Regions from separate parts of the Homo sapiens genome. Here all the other regions are linked to region 1. The links are contacts of gene promoters, found by promoter capture Hi-C in blood cells and fetal thymus (Javierre and others, 2016). All regions are on one chromosome and are shown on one strand. Each heading gives the region's core, a stretch centred on a gene start or on the middle of the fragment in contact. The rest is flanking DNA. Distances are from core to core; before and after follow the strand shown.

Region 1 (4,000 bases), core at 824-3,323:
GAGGCAGTAAAGAGTTCCTGATTCCTGGCCCACTTGGAAAGAGGTCACAGTTTGTCAAACTGGAGGAAGCAGCCTGCTAGGCCCTGCCCCTCCCTATCGCAGACAGCTGGCACTTGGAAGGACCCTTAGGATCCCCCTGTGTTTGGAAAAAGCCCTGTAGCCCAGAGGGGCCAGCACTGGCTCAGGGCCACACAGCCCAAGAGCAGAGGGGGTAGCACGGGGCAACTGCCAGAAACAACGCACTGCTTCTCACTGGGGCCCTAGCATCCCATCCTGGGTGAGGCTCAGCTAGGGCTGAGGCAGCCAGAGGGGGCGAAATGACCACCCCCTTGTCCCAGCCAGTGCTGGTGTTTGTCAGGTCAGACCTGCTCTCATTTGGTGTCTGGGAAAGAGGTCCCTCGGGAGGTAGAACAGTGTTCACCCCCTTCATCCGTGGTCATCCATTCATTCTCCACACAGAAGTTCCTCTTTCTTGCTTCCTCCAGTATGCAGCCACTCCCCTTCCATTTGTTCTGGGGAGAGCAGGCCATAAGAGGATAGGGGGTGAGGGAGGCCTGGGCAGGGGGGCTGGGGAGCTTAGGGTGCAGGGCGGGCCACGCAGCAGGGCCCCGGAACTGTGAAGGGGTGGGCCGGCCACGGGGGCTGCCTGTCGTCCCCTGCTGCCCTGCCGCCCCTCCCGTCACTTGGCGGCAGGCACGGTGATTAATGGCCAGGCCGTGCGGGCTGGGCGGCCATCAGCGCGCGTCTCGGCGACGGATGCGGCTGTCAGGCCGGCCCGGCCCGCGCTGACCCCCGGGCAGGGGCCCGGCGCGATCAATGGGCGGCGCGCAGCGGGCGGCGGCTGGGCCGCCGCGATAAGATGGGCCGATGGGCGCCTGCCGATTGCCCGCTCCGTCACCCGCCGTCACCGTCACCGTCACGCCGCCAGCACGCAGATCAGCGCCGTCAGCGCCGCGTGATTAATGGGGACGCCGGCAGCTGCGGGGAGGGCGCGGGCATGCGGACCCCGCACCCAGAGGGACATGGTGGGGTGCGGGGTGCGGGCTGGGACGCCGCACACGGCACGCTGCACTTACACTGGAGCCGCATGCAGGGAACGGGGGACACGGCGGGATGCGGGCTGCAGGTCTGGGGCACACGGCGCAGGTTTTCACGGGGCTGCGCGCGCGCGTGTGTATGTAGTGGGTGGAGGTCCCGGTGCCACCGTGACACAAGGGCCTGAGTGACTTAGGCCTGAGGGGTGGGGGGAGGAGGGACCACACCTACTGTGACCTCCCCACCGCGATCCCTGCCTGGCCTAGGCCTCAGCCACCAGGTCCACCAGCCTCTTCGGTCTTTGCAAGCCTGCCCACTGTCCCAACCATCTTTGAGAACCCAGACTAGACGGTCAGGACCCCGACCCAAAACCCTTCCACAGGTCCCATGGCTAAATCCCAGGTTCCCCACCCTCCCGGCAGGCCCGCAGGAATGCCGGCCCCGCCTCTCCATGCCGGCCGCCCCCCTGTGCTCCTTTAGCTGTCATCGCAAGTGGTCCCGTCCCCCAGAGCTTCGTCCCTGGGTCGGGTCATGCTGTTGGGGACGCCCTGAGCGCTCTCAGCGCACCGTTGGCCCTGCTCGCTCCCCACCGGGTGAGGAGGGCAAGAGCCGGCTTCCCACCCCCCTCCTCCGCGCCAGAGCGCACAAATCCCCACTCGAAGCGACCTGCCTCTGAGGCACTGCCCCTCCAGAATAGCGCTGGTCCGCCGGGACCCACTCGGAACTCGGGAATCGGGAGGGAGAGGCTCGCCCAACCCAAATACCCACATGCCGCCAGGGAGGAGCCGTGTGCCAGGTGTGCAGAGAGGGGGCCGGAGGGCTTCCCAATGCCAGTGACAGGAGCGCAGCAGGGACAGCCGGGCGCGAGTGTGGGACTGACCCGAAGTCCGAACTGCCAAGGAGAGCGAGACGAGGGGAAGGGGGGGGCCCCGGCTGGGTGGACTGGGGCCTATCCCGTGGGCAGTGGGGATCTCAGGGCCAAGCGGCAGCGGAGGCAGGACCAGCCACTCTCACTTTTCCCCTCGAAAACCACAGCGTTCCAGGGCCGCGAGGCACCCCGCGGGAGCTTGCGAGGACACAGCGCCCCCGTGTGGGCGGACGCGCACAGAGTCGCGCCCGTGGCGTTTCGGGCCCAGGCTCCGCCCCCGCCGCGCTGCCCCTCCCCCCATGGGGGCGTGGCCAGGCCTAGCCCAGGGATCCGAGATTCCAAGTCACACCCAGCACGACTTGGGAAGTCGCGACGAAAGTGCGCGACTTCCCAGCAAGCGAGGTTGAAGTCCCGGCAGGCAGGGAGGAAGGCGTGTGTCCCCCCGTGCATGCGGGGAAGGAGCAGTGGGGGAAGGCTGAGTTGGGCTTTCAATTAAAAAAAATGTGCATACACTTAGTTTTTTGATGCAAAATTGCCAAAGGCGTGTACCGTGAAAACCTACCTCGACACCTGCCCCCTGCCTCCTGTTCCCTTTCCGGAAGCGCCTGCCTTACACCGGTGTGTTCCTCTAGAGATGGCCAGGACCTGGGTGAGGCAGCACACACTCACAGGACCTTCCCAACACTCATTATGAAACATATCACATGGAAAACTGCAAGAATTACAGGCAATCGCCTCTCAGCCTTTGGCTAAGATCAAGTGTAGTGTTCTTATCACTTTAATATCTGCTATCTGAGGACAGTATGTTAAATGGATTTTTGGAGCAGGGAGATGGAATAGGACCTTGCTCTTTCCACTCCATGCATCCACCTGGTATTGCAGTACCTCCAGGAATAGTGCACCCCCTTTGGGGGAATAAAAAAAAAGGATTGCAGGTGAGCCCCCATATCCCTGTCATCTAGGCACTGCACTGCCCATCCCCCTGTCTGCCTGCCAGTCAGTCTTGTCAGTCTTCTGTGCATTTCAAAGTGAGTTGCAGATACAACAACCTCTGTAAATAGTTAAGCATGTGTATAATTATCTAGAGTTCAGTACTTGATTATGGTTTTTTAAGTTTTTTTTTTTTTTTTTTTTTTTGAGACGGAGTTTCGCTCCTGTTGCCCAGGCTGGAATGCAATGGCGCCATCTCAGCTTACTGCAACCACCGCCTCCCGGGTTCAAGTGATTCTCCTGCCTCAGCCTCCCAAGTAGCTGGGATTATAAGCGCATGCCACCACACCCAGCTAATTTTGTGTTTTTAGTAGAGATGGGGTTTCTCCATGTTGGTCAGGCTGGTCTTGAACTCCTGACCTCAGGTGATCCACCTGCTTTGGCCTCCCACAGTGCCAGAATTACAGGCATGAGCCACTGTGCCCGGCTGCTTATGGTTATTTTTAAACGTTAAAAATACAGTGAAATGTACAAATCCTAAGTGGAGCACTCCATGAGTTCTGACTAATGAAACCCAAATCCCAGTGAAGGATATTACTATTGCCCAGAAAGTTCCTTGTGCCAATCTCTAACACACTAGAGGCAACCACTGTTAGAATTTTTTTTTTTTTTGCAATAGATTAGGTTTTCCTGCTCTAGAATTTCATGTAAATGGCATCATACAACATGACTTGTTTCTTTCACTTAGCTTTTGAGCTCCTGAATGTTGTGTGTATGGATAGTTTATTTTTTATTGCTGGGTAAAATGCCACCCTGTGGATCCACCACATGTATCCATTTGCCTGTTGATGGCCACCTAGGCTGTTCCCTATTTTTCAGCTATTATGAACATTCTTGTACAAGTCTTTGTATAGGCATATATTTTCATCTTGGGTTTCAATACCCAGGAGTAGAATAGCTGGGTGTAGGGTAAGTGTATGTCTAGTTTTATGGGAAATTGCTACACCTTTTCCTGATGTAGTCTATTAGTCACTTCCTACCCCCCTTTTAAACACAAATGGTAGCATACGCTATTGTTTCTTGCTTTCTGTATTCTTCCTTGACAGCATATCTTGGAGATTCTTCTAACTCAACATATAAAGAATGTCCTCCTAGTTCCTTTCCACA
Region 2 (4,000 bases), core at 543-3,042, 440 kb after region 1:
TTCCGCGTGGGATGCTGACTGATACATCTTTTTTTTTTTTTTTTTCTGAGATGGAGTCTCGCTCTGTCCCCCAGGCTGGAGTGCAGTGGTGCAATCTCAGCTCACTGCAACCTCCACCTCCCAGGTTCAAGCAACTCTCCTGCCTCAGCCTCCTGAGTAGCTAGGTTCACAGGCGTCCGCCACCACACCTGGCTAATTTTTGTATTTTTAGTAGAGACGGAGTTACACCATGTTGGCCAGGCTGGTCTCGAACTCCGGACCTCATGATCTGCCCACCTCGAACTCCCAAAGTGCCGGAATCACAGGCGTGAGCCACGTGCCCGGCCCTAATACATCTTTTGACCTATCAATTTTATTCTAGAAATTTATCCTAAGGAAACCACCAGGAAGGTGCGAAAATGTGTAAGGATATTTGTAGCAGAATTAAAACTGAAGACAACCTAAGTATTCAACAGTAGGGAACCAGTTTAATACACCTGATGACCCACATGATGAAATATAACGTAGTTGTTAAAAATCAGGGCTGGGCACGGTGGCTCATGCCTGTAATCCCAGCACTTTGGGAGGCCGAGGTGGGCACATCACCTGAGGTCAGGAGTTCGAGACTAGCCTGACCAACATGGAGAAACCCTGTCTCTACTAAAAAAAATACAAAATTATTCGGGCATGGTGGCACATGCCTATGATCCCAGCTACTCAGGAGGCTGAGGCAGGACAACCGCTTGAACCTGGGAGGCGGAGGTTGTGGTGAGCCAAGATGGCACCACTGCACTCCAGCCTGGGCAACAAGAGCAAAACTCCGTCTCAAGAAAAAAAAATCAAGTTATAAGCCAGGCACAGTGGTTCACAGCTATAATCTTAGCACTTTGGGAGGCCAAGGGAGGAGGATCGCTTGAGCCCAGGAGTTCAAGACCAGCCTGGGCAACATAGCAAGACCCCATCACTACAAAAAAATGAAAAAATTAGTCAGGCATGGTGGCACATTTTTGGTCCCTGCTACCTACGAGGCTGAGGTGGGAGGATCGCTTGAGCCCAGGAGTTCGAGGTTACAGTGAACTATGATCACACCTGAACAATGGAGCAAAACCTCAACTCTAAACATAAATAAATAAATAATAACATGTTGTCCGGGTGCGGTGGCTCAGACCTGTAATCCCAGCACTTTGGGAGGCCGAGACGGGCAGATCACTTGAGGTCAGGAGTTAGAGACCAGCCTGGCCAACATGGTGAAACCCTGTCTTTACTAAAAATACAAAAATTAGCTGGGTGTGATGGCGCATGCCTGTAATCCCAGCTACTCGGAGGCTGAGGCAGGAGAATCACTTGAACTCAGGAAATGAAGGTTACAGTGAGCCAAGGTCACGCCACTGCACTCTAGCCCAGGTGACAGAGCAAGACTCCATCTCAAAAAAATAAATAAATAATAACATGTTTAAAAATCAGGTTATAAATGGATATTTAACAATGCGGAAATATACTTATGAAATATTTTGAGTGAAAACAAAATGTCCCTATGATTCCAATTTTGCACATAAAGTGACTAGAACAATGTATCCCCAAACTACTAATAGTAATTATCTTTCAATTATCAGGTTATAGGTAGTTTTTATTTTTTATTTTATTTTATTTTTTTTTGAGATAGAGTTTTGTTCTTGTCGCCCAGGCTGGAGAGCAGTGGTGCGATCTCAGCTCACTGCAACCTCCACCTCCCGGGTTCAAGCCATTCTCCTGCCTCAGCCTCCTGAGTAGATGGGATTACAGATGCCCGCAATCATGTCCAGCTAATTTTTGTATTTTTAGTGGAGACAGGGTTTCACCATGTTGGCCAGGCTGTTCTCAAACTCCTGACCCCAAGTGATCCACCCGCCTCAGCCTCCCAAAGTGCTGGGATTACAGACGTGAGCCACCACACCCAGCCTTATTTTCTTCTTTGTATTATTTTTGTGTGTTTCAGATTTTCTACAATGTTCATGTGTTCTTTTATAATTAGAAAAGGTAAATCCAATAAATATTACCTATTTTAAAAAGAAAAATTAAAGGTTAAGTTCTGTAACACCTTGCCCCATGTGCACACACAATCACACCAATTCCTCAGTCCCTACTAAGAGATGGGGCCCTGCTGGCCCAGGACATTGGTGGAGGGGCCATGCCTGCATCTGTATCAATGTCAGCTCATGGCGGTGGGCATTCAAACCTGGAGCCCTAGGCCTCGGGCTTTCTTCGGGACCCAAATGTTCACCAGCTGGGCTCTGTAGATCCAAACACCAGCTCTAGCTCTGGTGCATGACTGAGGGAAGGGCGGTTAGAATGCCTCAATTGCTGGTCGGATAGACTCAAGGAAACATGGATCAGCTGACCTTGTGGCAATCTTCAACAGAGACAGCATAGAGCAGTAGGGAAAAACAAAACAATGAGCCCCAGGGCTTGGAAAGCCATAGGTCTGAATCATGACTGAGCATCTGAGCTGCTGTTTGACCTCAGGCCAGCTTTTAACCTCTCAGTCTCAGTGTTTTCTTGTCTACAAGGGGGGTCATATTACTTATCTCTCAGGTTATAAGCATCAGATTGAATTAAATGAGCACAGAATAAAGGCTCCCTAAACAGTGGTTAGTATTAAAGAGAAAGGGCCTCCTGGGCCTGTGAGACATTCAGGGTCCCAGAGCCTTTGCTCTGATGTGCAGGTAAACAGCAGCAGCATGGTAAAAACTGTAGGGAGAGAGAAGAGATGCTTCTGGCAAGGAAATGGTCACCTGGTGTTTTGCCTAGACACTTGGCTGGCACTCAACACATGCTCTGTAGGTAAGAAGAGCTACCTGCAGTGGGTCCCAGGTCCAGACTTGAGTCATTCAGCTCTTCCTCCTCTTCCCAGAAGTACTGTGGTGGCTGCAGAATCCGAGACTCTTCATTCTCTTCGCTGGGGAAGCCTGAGCCAGGGGCTCCCAGCCCAGCTCCCAGGCCCATGGTCTCACTAGGCTCCTCTGAGTCCAGTGGCTCCAAGCCAGTGGGCAGCAGGAGGTCTAGCAGGGAGGTGGAGGTGAGGCCCTCTGGGCCAGGCTCATCAGACCCAGCCACACAGGCACCCAGGAACGCTCCTGTGCAGACATAAAAGCCAGACAGTCAGGGGAGGCTAGAGAAGACACAAGACTGGTGCCAGGTTAGAGCATGTCTCAAATGACAAAGGTCCTGGGGAAGGGGGGACTTCAGTGGACACTCCTGAAAACCCAGAGGCTTTGCGGGGATTCTGAGACACTATTTTCATTTCAAAAAGGCCAAATTGCTTAGACTTCCCTATGGCAGGGGCAAGGGGAGACAGATGGAGACAGGCAGGGGAGAGAGAGGAATCACTGAGTCAGTGTTCCACTGCGCATGTGGTCACTCAGAAAATGCCTCCTGAGTACCCTCTCTCTGTTGGCAATTGTACTGGGTGTTGGAGCTACAAACTGAAGTGAAGACAGGGCCCATGCTTTTAAGGACCTAGCAGTATGATTGGACGAACACAGTGTTCCCCAGGCTTCCATCCTTGGCTGAAATTTCTCCAAAACTGCATTATGAATATCATTTGTATTTCAGCAATACAGTATCCTGAACATAGTCTTTAGTTTTTTTATTTTTTATTTTTTTTGAGATGGAGTCTTGCTCTGTCGCCCAGGCTGGAGTACAGTGGTGCAATCTTGGCTCACTGCAATCTCCGCCTCCCAGGTTCAAGTGATTCTCCTGCCTCAGCCCCCCAAGTAGCTGGCATTACAGGTGCCCACCACCACGCCTGGCTAATTTTTGTATTTTTAGTACAGACAGGGTTTCGCCATGTTGGTCAGGCTGGTTTTGAACTCGTGACCTCAAGTGATCTGCCCTCCTAGGCCTCCCAAAGTGCTGGCATTACAGGCGTGCGCCACTGAGCCCAGCCTCTGAACGTAGTCTTTTAAAAAACCACGTGAGGTCACAGTTCAAACTCAACCCAGTGCTGGTAATTTGACATATTTGTTTAGAATCTTGGATTCTC
Region 3 (4,000 bases), core at 785-3,284, 420 kb after region 1:
CATGCTGCTCTCCACCTCCACACCTGATGAGGCCTGGTCCCCGGAGTCTTCATGCCTGCTTTTGGTGGCCCCTGGGGTCTGGCTGCTGCTGGTGAGAGAAAAGTCACGGACCTGAGGCTTGGCTTCTTCTTGGGATCCATTCACAGGGAGCAGCTCCTCCTCTTCCTCCTCCTCTTGTTTCTCTACCTCTTCCTTCTCCCTCTCCTCCTCTTCCTCTTCCTCTTCTTCCTCCTCTCTGGGAGGCATATGCCAGGGAGGCTCAACCAGATTCATCTTGGGCAAGGGAGAGGGGAGGTTTGGCAGCTCTTGAGCCTGGCTGGTGTCTTCAATGGAACCTGCCTTCTCAGTTAAGTCAGGAAAAACATAATCTAAGGACAGAGATGAAAAGTTCATTCACTTGTTTCATCATTCATTGCTTTACTCAGTATTTACTGGGCAGATGGCATAAAAGAACCACAATACACTGACAGGGCAGGGGTCATCAGGTCATGATGGAGAGGCCAGGGGAGCAGACTGTGGGAGGACACAGGGACAAGGCTAGTCACTGTTTCCTTTATGATGATAAAATAATACAAATTTATCACCAAAACTCAATGAACACAGGAATGTAGAAAGTTTTGTATATTGCATTCCTCCAAAAGAGCCATGAGTAGTTTGAGGTATATATTCTCCACTGTGTTTGTAATGTGCTTGCTTGTCCTCATCTGGGGATTTCACCAAGAAGATCCCACAACAACCCACTAGGAAGGGTCCCCCTACTCCTTTTCTAGTGAGTCGTTATAAGAGTCTTCTTGGTGGAGTCCCCGAAGGAGGTCTGAGAGCCCTCTCATCACTGGAGGAAGTGAGACCCCTCAATTATGACCATTGTTCCTCAACTGTGCTCTTTTTCTGTAATTTAGGCCCTGACAGGAAATGAAAAAGATGTAGGGAGAGCCAGAGAGAGGCCAGGGGCTGAGCCCAGAGTTTTCCAGGGCCTCCCAGAATGTTCAGGGTCACTGTTGGCAATGGGAGAGGGGTTTTTATTCTCCCTGCCATTCTTGGGAATTACATTTTGAAGCAGAGAAGTTAGGAGACTTCCTGGAGATCAGATTGTTTTCTGGCTTTTCAATGAACCCTAGGCCTCTTCCAAATAACTATGCATGAAAGTTATACAACAAGTTTTTTGGAAATTCATTCAAAATATCAGAAGCTGTATCTAGGAAGCAACTTTTATTGGCTGCCATTTTGTTTCAAAATAATAAATATTGTAGTTTTAAAATACTCTTTAGAAAGGAGAGTGGTGGGAACACTTTAAGATAGCGAACTAAAGGTATTCATTTACCTCCTCCTCCAAAACTTTTATCAAATGACAAAAACAATTTTAACTGTCAAAATGAAGATAAAAACATTTTAGAGAAATTTCTGGGAACATGGAAAGCAGATGAGATTATAGGAACAGATAACCCCTCAGCCAAAATAAACATAGGAAAAAATAGCAGGGGAGGAGGCAGGCTTTCTTACCCAGAGTTAGGAAGAGGCACAACTGTGGGAGCAAGGATGTAGAACACAGAAAATTCAGAGAACAGAAGGTAATTTTTAAAAGTCTAATTAGTATCCTCAGAAAGATTACAAAATATTGCATCCCTAAAATAAGACGCCACTCAGAAAATCAAGTAATCTTTAAAAAAGAAAAATTTCTTGGATATTGAAAGTCAATAGTTGATATTTAAAAATTCAACGGATTGAAAATTCAAATTTTTAATGGCTGGGAAAAAAAAAAGTCAAGGAAAAGCCTCTAGGGCAAAAGTGAGAAGACAACAGATAAGAGTTAAAAGATACAGACAACCAATGTAGGAGATCTAATACCTAGCTAATATGATTTCTGGAAAGATAGAACCAACAAAATGGAGAATAATGGAGAGAAACAAAGAAAAAAAGTTTCAGAGCTGGCAACATGAATCTTTGCAATGAAAGCTTGTATCATCAAGGTGAATGATAAAAGACTTACACCTAGCCTCATTCTCATGTGATTTTAGAATTATAAGGAGCAAGAGAAAATCTTAACAGCTCTCAGAGAAAGAACAGGTTATCTGTAAAGGAACAAGAAACAGATTACCAAATTATCATGAAGCTTCTAATTAATATCAGTAGCCTAGAGGAAGAATTTAAAAATGCACTGAAAAATCTGAGGGATGTTTATTTTGAACCTGAAATGTTATATCCAAATAAATGACTACTCAAGTGTGATTGCAAAATAAAGACATTCTCATACATGCAAAGATTTAAAAGTGTTACTATCCACAGATTCCAAGAGATTTAAGTAAGTTATTTAAGAAACCAAAAAAAAAAAAAAAAAAAAAGACATGGGAAATCAAGAAACATGAGAGGAATGCAATGAAAATATATCTCAGGATGGAAACTGTGCAGTAAGCCTGGAAAGCAATTGGTTCAAATTAGAACACACAGAGAGAGCTCTGAGAACGATTATTTCAAAAAGAAAAATTGATTCCCTGTAATAAAAAGTATGACTTAGAAGCTGAACAATCCTAGTGACAACTGAAAGCCCACTATAGTATTTAAATCAATAATTAGAATATTCTATCCAGTCCACTTCTGTTAATTAGACTTTTTGAGTAGCAGATCCTCCCCCTCTTCCACCTACTGCACACACTCTGTAGTGAAGTCACTACAGATAAATAAGAAAGAAAGAACAACCAAGATTCACAAGACATTTTAAGAAAGCCAGCCTGATGAAGAAGCATAAGGGTGGGACCATAAAGCAACTGACCTCTAGGAAAAGTTAGTCTAGTTAACAAAAGAGAATTCAGAAAAGTTTCTTGTTAATATCTTCAGAAAGATTCAGGAGGAAATCACACCCACAAAACAAGTATATAGAAGAATAAATATATTTTACCTCAATGTAAGTAAGAACTTTATAATAGCCAGATCTATCCAGAATTAAGATATAATGCATGAAAACATAACTGAAATGGGCTGGATGATTACTTGATAGGAATACTGGGTAACAGAATAGGAGTCAGATGGGTGCCTAGGAAATACAATATATGAAATCACTTACAAGCATAATATTTCATTATTGGAAGATTAATCTGACAGCAATTTACAAGATTAGGTGAAGGAGTAGATGAATGAAAGTGCAAAGAAGAGTCAGGGAGTTGCTGCAGTGATTCGGGAGAGATGCATGGCGGTGATGACACTGGAGATGATGAGAAAAGAGCAGACTCAAGAGATGACTCTGAAAGAGAAGTAATCAGATGCGTGAGCTAGATGGCCAACAGGGAGAAGCTGCGGGAGTAGCCAAGCCATTAATAGAGATGGTGAAGTTCAGAGGAAAGGAGTATTGGAAACCTTCAGGACGCACTTAAAATAGCTGATGGATTCAATGCAGCCTAGGATATGGCAGGAATATGGTGGATGGTGACACACCCATCAGCAGAATCCCATGGGGTGGGGAAGTCCTGGGAGGGCAAGCTGACTAAAACGATCTCTCTACTCAATTTGGTGCTGACTTTCCAAAAGTCAGAGAGAGCATCAACATCTCCAGAGGGCACCAACAGAACTCCCTAAACTGTGTACAGCCTCCTCAGAGATGCATCATCAGTCACGCTGTCGGCAGCATGATCTGGGACTCAGCCACTAACTTATCTGCGCACGCAGTGGTAAGTCCCTCCAACTTCTCTGGGCTTCAGGTTTTGTTCTGCTTTTGAGACAGGGTCTCACTCTGTCACCCAGGCTGGAGTGCAGTGGTGCAATCACGGCTCACTGCAGCCTCAAACTCCGAGGCTCAAGTGATCCTCCCACCTCGGCCTCCCAAGCAGCTGGGACCACAGGGCCACTACACCCCGCTAAATTTTTTTATTATTTGTAGAGACAGGGTCTCTCTACACTGCCCAGGCTGGTCTCGAACTCCTGAGCTCAAGCAATTCTCCTACCTCAGTCTCCTGAGTAGCTGGGACTTACTGGCACACACCACCACACCTAGCTATTTTTTTTTTTTTTT

What was found. The method cuts DNA at HindIII sites, captures the fragments that hold promoters and counts their contacts. A CHiCAGO score of 5 or more calls a contact.
Region 2: a contact is called between a fragment that was not itself captured here and the fragment with the promoter of RUVBL1-AS1 in region 1, in 1 of 17 cell types (megakaryocytes). The highest score is 5.5, in megakaryocytes.
Region 3: a fragment that was not itself captured here is called in contact with the fragment with the promoter of RUVBL1-AS1 in region 1 in 5 of 17 cell types (megakaryocytes, endothelial precursors, naive B cells and 2 more); the score reaches 9.8 in megakaryocytes.

What each region holds. Positions count from the first base shown.
Region 1 is chr3:128,073,883-128,077,882 of GRCh38, reverse strand. RUVBL1-AS1 (RUVBL1 antisense RNA 1) reads right to left here and starts at 2,073. Exons shown (of 2, transcript NR_046645.1): 1 at 1,804-2,073. It also overlaps a transcript of RUVBL1 not described here and the pseudogene RNU2-37P. RefSeq lists silencers at 476-575, 1,917-2,356, 2,367-2,416. The HindIII fragment of the contact is 15,687 bases long and covers 1-4,000 here.
Region 2 is chr3:127,638,337-127,642,336 of GRCh38, reverse strand. It overlaps PODXL2 (podocalyxin like 2), which reads right to left. Exons shown (of 8, transcript NM_015720.4): 2 at 2,814-3,092. Among named protein-coding and RNA genes, the nearest start is that of PODXL2, 11 kb to the right of the region's middle. RefSeq lists an enhancer at 2,992-3,492. The HindIII fragment of the contact is 5,314 bases long and covers 1-4,000 here.
Region 3 is chr3:127,656,746-127,660,745 of GRCh38, reverse strand. PODXL2 (podocalyxin like 2) reads right to left here. Exons shown (of 8, transcript NM_015720.4): 3 at 1-368. Among named protein-coding and RNA genes, the nearest start is that of ABTB1, 14 kb to the left of the region's middle. The HindIII fragment of the contact is 157 bases long and covers 1,956-2,112 here.